Linked DNA regions of Homo sapiens: region 1 is linked to region 2. The links are contacts of gene promoters, found by promoter capture Hi-C in human tissues and cell types (Jung and others, 2019). All regions are on one chromosome and are shown on one strand. Each heading gives the region's core, a stretch centred on a gene start or on the middle of the fragment in contact. The rest is flanking DNA. Distances are from core to core; before and after follow the strand shown.

The links. Contacts are between HindIII fragments. The study calls those that stand out against the background at their distance.
Region 1: a contact is called between a fragment that was not itself captured here and the fragment with the promoter of CST4 in region 2, in 1 of the 25 tissues and cell types used here (spleen).

Annotation. Positions count from the first base shown.
Region 1 is chr20:24,013,528-24,018,546 of GRCh38, forward strand. No RefSeq gene overlaps it. Among named protein-coding and RNA genes, the nearest start is that of GGTLC1, 27 kb to the left of the region's middle. RefSeq lists an enhancer at 4,928-5,019. The HindIII fragment of the contact is 3,098 bases long and covers 2,094-5,019 here.
Region 2 is chr20:23,686,196-23,691,157 of GRCh38, forward strand. CST4 (cystatin S) reads right to left here and starts at 2,843. Exons shown (of 3, transcript NM_001899.3): 1 at 2,547-2,843; 2 at 893-1,006. The coding sequence starts at 2,774. The HindIII fragment of the contact is 7,573 bases long and covers 1-4,645 here.

The DNA.
Region 1 (5,019 bases), core at 2,393-4,892, 330 kb after region 2:
CCTTTAGAACTAGTAGCTTGATTTTGTCAATGATGATTTGATCCTGTTGAATTTCTGACCCTTTCAGGTAAGCCCTGGACCAAGCCACAAAGGTAGCAAGATTGGTTTTCGGAGTTTCTCGTAGGCTGTTCTTCTTGCCTTCTGTCACACTCACTCCATCAGGGCCTGTTTGCTGCCCAGATGAGCCACACACATCGGCTGGATGAAATGAAACTTGCCCTTCTTGTCCTACATGTCTGTATCTAAAAGTATACATTTTGGAAAGAGGCCTTATTAATCTAAATACTTTTTATTTTAAGGTAAGAATTTTAATTTCTATTTCATTTGGTGATATTTTGTTCATATTAGTTGTCCTGTGGGTTTGCAAGGAAATCCGTCAAGGTTACAAAAGAACATTTTATAACTCTTATTTTTAACCTAGAAATAGCAAAGAAACAAAACATTAGTACTGTTTTAAACATGGGTGGACACTTACAGCTCATTTGGCTTAAATGATGGCAGGTTATCTGTTAGCTGAGGATTCAAGACATCTGAGGGAAGAGTGGGGTACAGGGAGCAGCGTGGGGGCTGAAATGCACAGTGTCATGTGTGTGGGAGTGTGATGTGCATGCAGTGTGCATGTGTGTGTGGGATGTGTGTGATAGATGATGTATGTGTGCCTGTGATCTGGTGTGTGTGTATGTGTGTGTGCAGGTGTCTGCGTTGGAGTAGTTTAGTGGGAATCCCTGACTCCTGACAGCTGATCAAGCTTCCCACCTCCACCATCCCCCAGGAGATGTCTGAACCCTGTCTGCTTTCAGCAAGAATCCTACTAGGTCGGGTTAGCCAGATTCCCCCACCTACAGGCCGGATGCTTCCTCTTATTGATTTAGCATCCGCTGACCCCACCCTGCTCTTTGGTGAAAGTCCCCACTGTCCATGCTGTAGGAGTGACCCATGTTCTACTTTGAGGCTTCTTTTATCCTACTGCAATCATTCCTGAACCAAATCTATTTTTACAGCTTTAACTATTGTCCAGTTCTGGTTTTCTTTAGCGGAGGGAAGCAGCCAGGGGGGTCTCCATAGTCAACTTGACCTTGATCTTCATAAAGGTACGAAGGCACTTTCAGGCCAAACTTCTAGTGAACCTGGGACATTTTGGGAGCTAAGTGAGCTGCCAGCGGCCCTAGGATCAGAGTGGGGAAGGGACTAGGGTTTTCCTCAATCTCAGGCTTAATGACTGGGGGCATTTCAGCTCCACTTACTGCTCTGTCTTTCATAACTTTGTCCAAACCCTTTTTTGGGATTCTTCCAGAAGCAAAGGGAAGCACAGTGTTGATTACTCGCTGTGTGAGCAGTGCGTTCCCTTCTGTGCTATATGAGTACTTTGCTCACATCTTACATTTCACTTTACACATGTGTGTCAGGGTTTGGGAAACCAGTCTCGTTTTATCCTTGACTTTATTTTTTGGCATCTTGACTGGAGCATCTCTATGTGCATGCACCCTCACTGCCATCTCCTGGGTTCTCTGTTCCAGTGTCTTGTGGATTTTCTCCTCCCCTATTTCTGACCATGAAAGGCAGCATCCCCGCTGCCCTGCCCATCGGTGGCACTGCTCCCTGCAGTTCTCTGGCCAGATTCAGAACCCACAAAACGAGACCTTGTCTCCCTTTCCCTTTTCCAGCCCAGACTCAGACCCAGACCCACCCTATGCAGCCTGGGACACCCTTGCAATGGCTCCCAGCCTCCTCAGCTCTCTTGCAGCGCTTGTTATTGTAAACCAAACCCATTGCTTCCTTTCATATACCTGGTGCTAACCTAACCTGTCCTGATTCCCTTTCTCTACTTCTCGTGTCCTTCCAATACTTCAAAACTACATTTAATACTCCATGTTCACATGAATCATGTATGAAAAGAAAAGCTATTGATTTATATTTTCTTTTTTGTTGTTTTAATGATATGCCTTCCTTCGCATTCTCATTTTTGTATATGGTTGCCTATTACAGCAAGTTCCTCAAAGAAAAATGTGAAGTGATGTCTGTGGCTTTGTATTATAAGGTAGATATCTTAAATTCCTTCTTTTAAAAAATAACTATATCAGGTCATTATTTATCTCTAAAAGAACTAACTTTTATTAATAAACCTTAAGGCTCATTTGCCACTCTACCTACTCATAGGAACTTCTAATAAACTCATCTGTATAAGAGGAAACATCCTTGGCATGTCATGGGTCTTTGCAGAGATTAATGTAGTAAATAAGTTACATCGAACAGTTCCTAACTCTGCTCTAGTGACAACAGCAGCAGCTGGCCCCCTTGTCCTCATGCCCACTCCCTATACAAGAGTGGATTCTGTGCCCTTACTTAAGCATCATTGTCTCCTTGTGCAGTGTTCACCAGGACCCGCAGCGGGGTGAGTTTACTAAGATGGTGTTGAGTCCTGGTTCCCAAGGACAGGCCTCACAGCCTGTGTCAGAAAACAGCACAGGGGAGGTGTAGGTCCGAGAGGTGGGTTGTCCATTGCAGTCCACCTATCACCTTCTCCAGACAACACAGCGGGGCTGCTCTGTGCTAGGAGTATTATTGCTTTCTGAAATTGTGCAGGGATCTATGCACTGCTCCTTTTAGTTTGAAATACTTTCAGACTGTAAGCAGTTTAAACTAGATAAACTGTATTTCCTTCCAGCTAAAATATTCTCTCATCCTGTCTTCATAAAACCCATGCATGCAGAGAATCCAAAAATAAATCACGCAATGCATGTCACCTTCGTTTCCCATTGCCTTGCAGCCCAATCAAACAAAAATTCCTTAAACACAGCCTTATTAAAGTCACTGCTTTGTAACTGCTGGGAATATGAAACAAGCAATTTAGTCTCACTTGAGGGACAGACCCCACCTTCTGGTGTTTGATTCTGTGCCCTTCCTATCTGAACCACCTTCCTTGACGATCTCTGCTGTTAGCTTAGAAGGAAAACACTATCCATGATTGTTCTATGTTCCCAGCTGATTGGAGCTATGGAGGTGAGGTGTACTTGAAGCTGGAGAACCTCCTATGCTTGATATGTTTTATGTTTTGCAAATTCCTCTAAATACACAAGAATGCTAGTTGCTGAGACAGGCAGGACTGCAAGAACTTGGTATTTACCTAAGACCCTGTAGCACTTTTCTGTAACACTCCAAAATCCTGGCACCTCCTGGCCATCATCCTCACTGCTTCTCCCACAGAGTCCCGGTCAATCATTAACACCAGCCTCACTCATCGCTCAGCCACTCAGTACGACAATGATGGTGGGAACGCAGATCTGCTGTCCCTCTAATAACTGTCGAGTAGGAGATCGCAGAATGTCAGCTCCAGAAATGGCTCGCATATTTCCTGTGTGTTATTGCTTTTTAACCCAGATCATCTTGGAAGAGAAATAGCTTTCATTTATATTCTAAACTCATGCAAAGGGTGGTAAAGCTTGCTGATTCAAGAATCTGATTTATTTTACAGAAATTAACATAACCACTAAAATCAAACCCATTCCCTTCCCCAGTGTGGTTGCTAAAGTGGCCCAATTATGATAAAGAGAGTGCAAGAGTATGAGTCTCATTTTCTGCTCATCTATTTTATTTTGATGCCTTTATTAAATGCAGGAGGCACGGCTGCTCTGATGGGTCTCCTCCCTTCACTCCTCTGGAACAGCCCTACCTTGCCATCAGCATCTGGTTTTTTTTTAAACAATATGTCTTCTGATTTAAACAATGCCTTTATTATTGTATTAAAATATACATAACATAAAATTTACCATCTTAACCCTTTTAAAGTACACAGTTCAGTGATATTAAGTACATTTACATTGTTGCACAATCATCACCAGCCCCATCTCCAGAACACTTTTCATCTTCAAAACTGAAACTCTGTACCCATTAAACACTCCCCACTCTCCCCCTCCCAGCCCCTGGCAGCCACCATTCTACTTTGTCGTGACGAATTTGATGACTCTAGCCACTTACATAAGTGGAATCATTGTAAGTAATGAATCACTGGCTTATTTCATTTAGCATAATGTCCTCAGAGTTCATCCGTGTTGTGATATGTGTCAGAATTTCCTTCCTTTTTAAGGCTGAACACTGTTCCATTGTATGGAAATGCCACATTTTGGATACTGTCTTATTTCTCTACCTGTATTTCCTGGAAACAACTTCCCACTTAGCATCTATACCCAAGCTCTTAGCTCAGTGTGTGCTTTAGAGGGAACACAAATCAAGGAGGATTTACATGTTTTTTACCCCTTTGAGGTGTTTTAGACCCTGGCTTATAAGTGAAATCAAAAAACAAGGGAAAGAAATGCTGAACATGAAAAAAAAAATTCTTCTGAAGGAACAGAAAAGAATACCAGGGCTACTTAGAGAAAACTCAGGGCAACAGAGTTGATATAAGGGCGTGTAACTCATGGTAAATGCAAGGGGAGAGTCCACAGACTCAGCCAGAAGACACAGCAATCGTGAGTCGAGGCAAATGGATCAGGGTCTGTGGCCAGTGACTTCTTGGTGTGAGGGACCCAGAGGAGGCTCATTCCCAGCACAAGTCCCCAGAGAGCTGGACAACAGCTTAGGGCTCTACAGGGAGCAAGAACCTAGGCAAAGGTGATGGTTCTCAAGGACTCAGGTAGATGAGACAGGTGAGCAGCCTGCTCCAAAAGATAGGCATGAGAGTGAAATTTCTAATATTCTCCCCTGGCTGGTTCTCTCTTGGTCCTGGCTGGTGACAGCTGTGGCCAGTTGGGGAAGGATTAAAGTGGCAAACCAATCTGAACTTCTTAAAGTTTCCCCCAAATGTTATATTTGCTTCAGTGGATTCCACGGTTGAGTCTACAAATATCAGAACTTTGGGTGTGTGAGCTTGTGTTCTCTTTTCCCTTCTCTGAGACTGTCTGTGCAGTCCACAGTCCTAATGACCATCTTCCCATCCTTTGGCAGAGCGGCTGAGCTGCCATCAGGAAGAAAGGTCTTGTGAGTAGCTGCACAGTTCATCCCCACTGTAGATCACAGCTCAGG
Region 2 (4,962 bases), core at 1,593-4,092:
CCCAGCCTGCAGTGTCCTGTCCCATCACAGCCCTGTGAGGAGCAGCCTGGGCAAGGCCTCGGGAGCCCCAAGGGTGCAGGACATGGGGAGGTGGCTCAGTTCCCCCAGCTCCTTCCACCTCCAGCACCCAGGCCAGCACTAAGAGGGGCCAGAGGGAAGAACCCAGGGCAGGGCAACTCCCCCTCAAAGAGCTGGGGCATGGGTCAAGGGCAACAAGGGGAGTGCCGCTCTCCCCTGAGTGGAGACCTCACAAGAACCAGCAGGTTCTTGGAGAGGCTGGTGTTGGGTGAGCCGGGCAGGTCCAGGGCTTCCCAGCTAACAGGCCTCTAGGTCCCACTAATCTGATTGTGGCTTTGGCTGCATGCAGGTGCCTGAGGCTGGGATTAGACAGATCCCCTTCTCCCTGCCCAGCACCCAGCCCCGCAGGTGATTCTTCCTGTCCAACAGGCAACACCCCAAAGCAGGCAGTTGACCTTCTAGTAACCATTCCCAAGCTAAAGCCTTCCTAGCAAATCAAACACATCACCCCCTCCCTCACCACCCCATCTGCACACACATAGGCAACTACGTAAACTCACTTGGACCCCTCATCCCCATGGATCTATGTACAAACCCCCATACTTCCGCCACACACCCACACACAGGCACACATGCTTCCATACACCTACCCGCACACACTGGCACATGTGTGTACACACGTGCACCTTTCCACATGCACACCTACATGCACACCCCCCCATAAGTACATGAACACGTACACATCCATGCATACACGGCTCCCCACATACCCACCTGCACACACACACCGTCCAAACATGGGTAGGACAGAGGCTGACACATACGCACCCCTCTGCAGTGCATGACTGGCCCGGGACCCGCATCAGGAACGTACCTTCTGCAGTTCTGGCTGTTCATGGAAGGCACAGGTGTCCAAGTTGGGCTGGGACTTGGTACATATGGTGCGGCCCACCTCTACGTCGAAGAAGTAATTCACCCCCCCAAAGGTCTGCACACAGGAGAAAACAGGAAGCACGGACAGCGCCCCCATCAGTTCATGCACTCACAGGCACTTCACTGTGGCTGAGTCACTGGACTTGCTTGGGGGCTTCGTGAGCTGCCCACATGTCAACACAAGGCACACAAGCCCCCTCTTCCTGTCAGCTGGCAGGGTGCTGAGCCTCATGCCCGCTCTTAAACATCGTTTTCTCTGTGCTGGGTAAGAGGATTCATTGAATTCTGCTACCTGTGGCTCAGGGGTGAGGGAACACTGACTCTTTTCTAGGAAGGCTGTCTGATGACAAAATTTCAGCTAACTCACGAAAATCTTATTCCCTCCATTTAACCTAGATTTATTACTTCACTTAGAGTAGGAAATGAGATGCTTCACACACACAGATATTTTGGGTCAATGGGGCCGCCCAGATGCCACCATTTCAAGTGTGAGGTTCAAGATACGTTTCTCAAGTCAGCAGCACACCTGAGTGTCTTACAATTGCAGATTATAATTGAACCCTTTCCCTGCACAGGGCCTCTCCCAGACACTACGTGGCAGAGCTGTGGAGAAACCTGGGATGAGGGACTCTTTGGAACCAGGAGGAACTGCTGAGATCCCTCGAGTATCAGTTTACCCATGTATAAAATAGGCTTCCAGGTCTGATGGTCTGCAATGCCCTGTGCTTCACTCCAAGTTACTGTCATGCTTAAGAGGGAGATGCAGGCCAGCGGGGACCATGGCACCAGGGAGTGCACCTCCTGTGCAGGGTGAGGGCTCCAGCTGACAGCTGTAGGAGGAGAAACGGGACTGGTCTGGATTCCTTTGAATTTCTAGAAGGTGGAGGAGCTCTAAAGGCTGTGTCACTATTTGCTGCTCTGCCATGGGATGCAGGTCAAGCTGGGCCCAGTTGCCCTGCTGAAGCTCACTCTGGACCTAACCCCTCCTCTGCTCTGCTGGGTGACTGCTGTCCTCATCTGGCTGAGGTCTAACTCTGCATCAGCTCGTAGAGGCAGGGCCAGGCGTGCTCCACCCCAGCAGGGACTCAGCCATCCTGGCCTGCAGGGGTGGGTCAGCCTGCCTGAGGGTGAAGGCCACTAGCCCTAAGGGGCTGTGCCCAAGGGCATGACTTGGGGAAGGAAGAAGGGCTCTGCAGAACAGGGAGCCAGGTTCCCATGTGGCCCCTGAGGAGAGGACTCAGGGAGGAGAATGAGCCTCACCGCCTGGATCTCATCCTGAGCAGCATCAAGCCCACCCAGAGTCAGCACAGTCTCCATCCACACCTGCTGGACGCTGGGAAATGCCACGGTCATGGTACAGACACAGCAGCTGCTGCAGGTTAAAGGAAGCTGCAGCACTTCCTTTAACTGTCTGCAGTGCATGGACCGGGAGCATGCTTAGGCATGAAGGGCATCAGCGGAGAGTCAGAGAAAGCTGAATGAATCTGAGCATTAGATCATGAATGTGTCAGTGTTGATTTGCTTGGAATGCTCTTGGGGGTCCGGCAACAAACCAGGCTAGGGCTCAGGACCCCTCGGGTGGAGGCAGCACCCACCTGCTCCCTGGCTCGCAGCACCTGCAGCGGGCGTCTGTAGTACTCATCTTCGGTGGCCTTGTTGTACTCGCTGATGGCGAAGTGAAGGGCACGCTGTACCCACTCATCATTGAGGTCTGCATCATAGATGCCACCTGGGATTATCCTATTCTCCTCCTTGGAGCTCGAGGCCAGAGCCCCAGCCAGGGTAGCCATCAGGAGTAGCAGGGTACACAGAGGCCGGGCCATGGTCTCCTCAGAGGCAGAGCACAAAGCTGGAGCTGCAGGAGAGGAGGGTGAGAGCCCGAGGCAGGGAGCCCAGACCAGCAGGCAGGTGTGCATTTATCCTGCTTTGGCAGCCCAGCCCCACCCACCTCCATGCCCTGCCCCTGACTCCTCCTCCTCTTTCTGCCCATCCCCTCTTTCTCCATCTCTCTTTTCACTCCCCCACCACTACAAGCTCCCTCCCTGCCTAAGTTCCCCCTGCCCCTCCCAGGCCTCCTCCTCCATCTCCCCCTCCTCCCCACTCCAGTCCTCACTGCAGCCTCCCTGAGCCATGCCTCTCTTCCCCAGTGCTCCCAAGCTTGAGTCACCCAGGTCTCCACAGAGGTGACACTGGTCCTTTGACTGTGAAAGCAATGTGACTTCCTGTTTGCTCAGAAAGGGGAAAAATACAGGGCTTGGCCTCCCGGGGTCTTCAGATATCAGAGGCTTCCAGGAGCACTTGGTCACGGTCTCTGAATCTCTGGAACAGAGAGGTTATTTCAGAAGGTTCCAGAAGACCCTGTCCACACCCTAATATGGAGAATTTCTTTGCCAAATTTAAGGGAATTAACCTTTTTGGAAAAGGTCACTGGCTTCTGTTTTCATAACTCATTATTCAATAAACAAACCTATCACCAGTTACTGCCCATGCCAGGAGGTCTAGGGCTTGAAGACGGAACCTGGATGATGAGCCATAGAGGTGACATTGCAGAGCTGCTGCCCACAGAGATGTGACATGAACCCACAAGCATTTGAAAATTTCTAGTAGATGCATTTTAAAAGATGAGAATAAATGGGTGAAAGTAATGTTTAAAATATTTATTTAACCTAATATAGCCACAATATTATTTCAGCTAACGGGAACAATTATTAATGAGATCGTTTATGTGTGTTTTTTTTTTTTGGTTTTGTAAATCTTTGAAATTCCCTGTGTATTTTTTACACTTAGCCCAGGAATCATTTTGGACTGGCCCCATTTCAAGTGTCCTGTGGCACATGTGGCTGGTGGCTGTGGAACTGCACAGTAAATTCCTACACAGTGTGTGTAGAGGATGGTAGGTTACGATCAACAATTAGGATCAGGGAGTTATACTCACTCTGTTGGAAGTGAAATAGAACAGGGGCTAGAGAGAGACCACTGGACCCTGGTCAGGGTGGTCTCTATGAGACTGGAGAGGTTGAGCAGCCCCAGGCAGCGGGGAACAGCCAGTGCAAAGGCCCTGAGGTGGGGTTGGGACATGCCTGCTCCAGGAAGAGGAAGCTCCTGGAGGGGATGTGAGCAAGGGAGGAAACCACCTGGAGTCTCACGGTAACTGTGGGTGAGGACCGGTGGAAGGTGCACGGAGACCCCTGTGAGGCAGTGGGGGTGTCAGGAGAGGGAGCAGCAGCCACGGGATGAATGTGGGAACCCACAGGCCTCTCTTGCTTCTCTCCTAGGCAGCCATGCTTCAGGCTCCTTTCCTCTGTGCACTCCTTGGAAGACTCACGTGGCATTTTAAAAATTGCCTTAAATGAGGTAGAATTTACATACAATAAAATGCCTAATAGTATGTGCCCAATCTGGGGGATTTCATAAATGCATACACTTGTGTTACCACTTTGTCCAGACCTGTGACATCTGCCTTGCCCCAGACGGTATCCTCCTGCCTCTCCAGCCACCCTCGTGCCCGCCCCACCCTGGCAGCCCCCATCCGGCCCTGTAGACACCTTTGTCGCCTGTCCTTGAGCTTCCCAGGAATGGAGTCCTGCAGAGCGAGCCCTGATGTGTCTTCATCCTTTGCTCAGTGTGGCTTTCCAGCGGCACCTGAGTTGCTTCATTGCCAAGACTGTGAGTTCTCCTTCTCCACAGACTGAGAGGATGTGGTCAGTTGGGTGTCCTGTGGGCTGACAAAGCCCCCAGCTTGGGATGCTGTGGGCCTGGGCTGGAATGTGTCTCCAGGAGTGGGGAGGGTGGAAGGAGGCTCTGAACAGACAGCTGCTCTCGTTGTTCTCTCAACCCCACCCTCCATGCCTGAAGGTGACCCTGTGGCAAATGCCCTTATGGGGAGGTGGCAGGCTTGGCCAGAAACTCCAGGAAACCCTGGGCCTTAGCAGGACACCCAGAGGACTGTCTTGGGAGTGGTGGAGGTGAGGGTTGGCCAGTGTCAGCCCAGACCTGTTTAGAACACTAAAC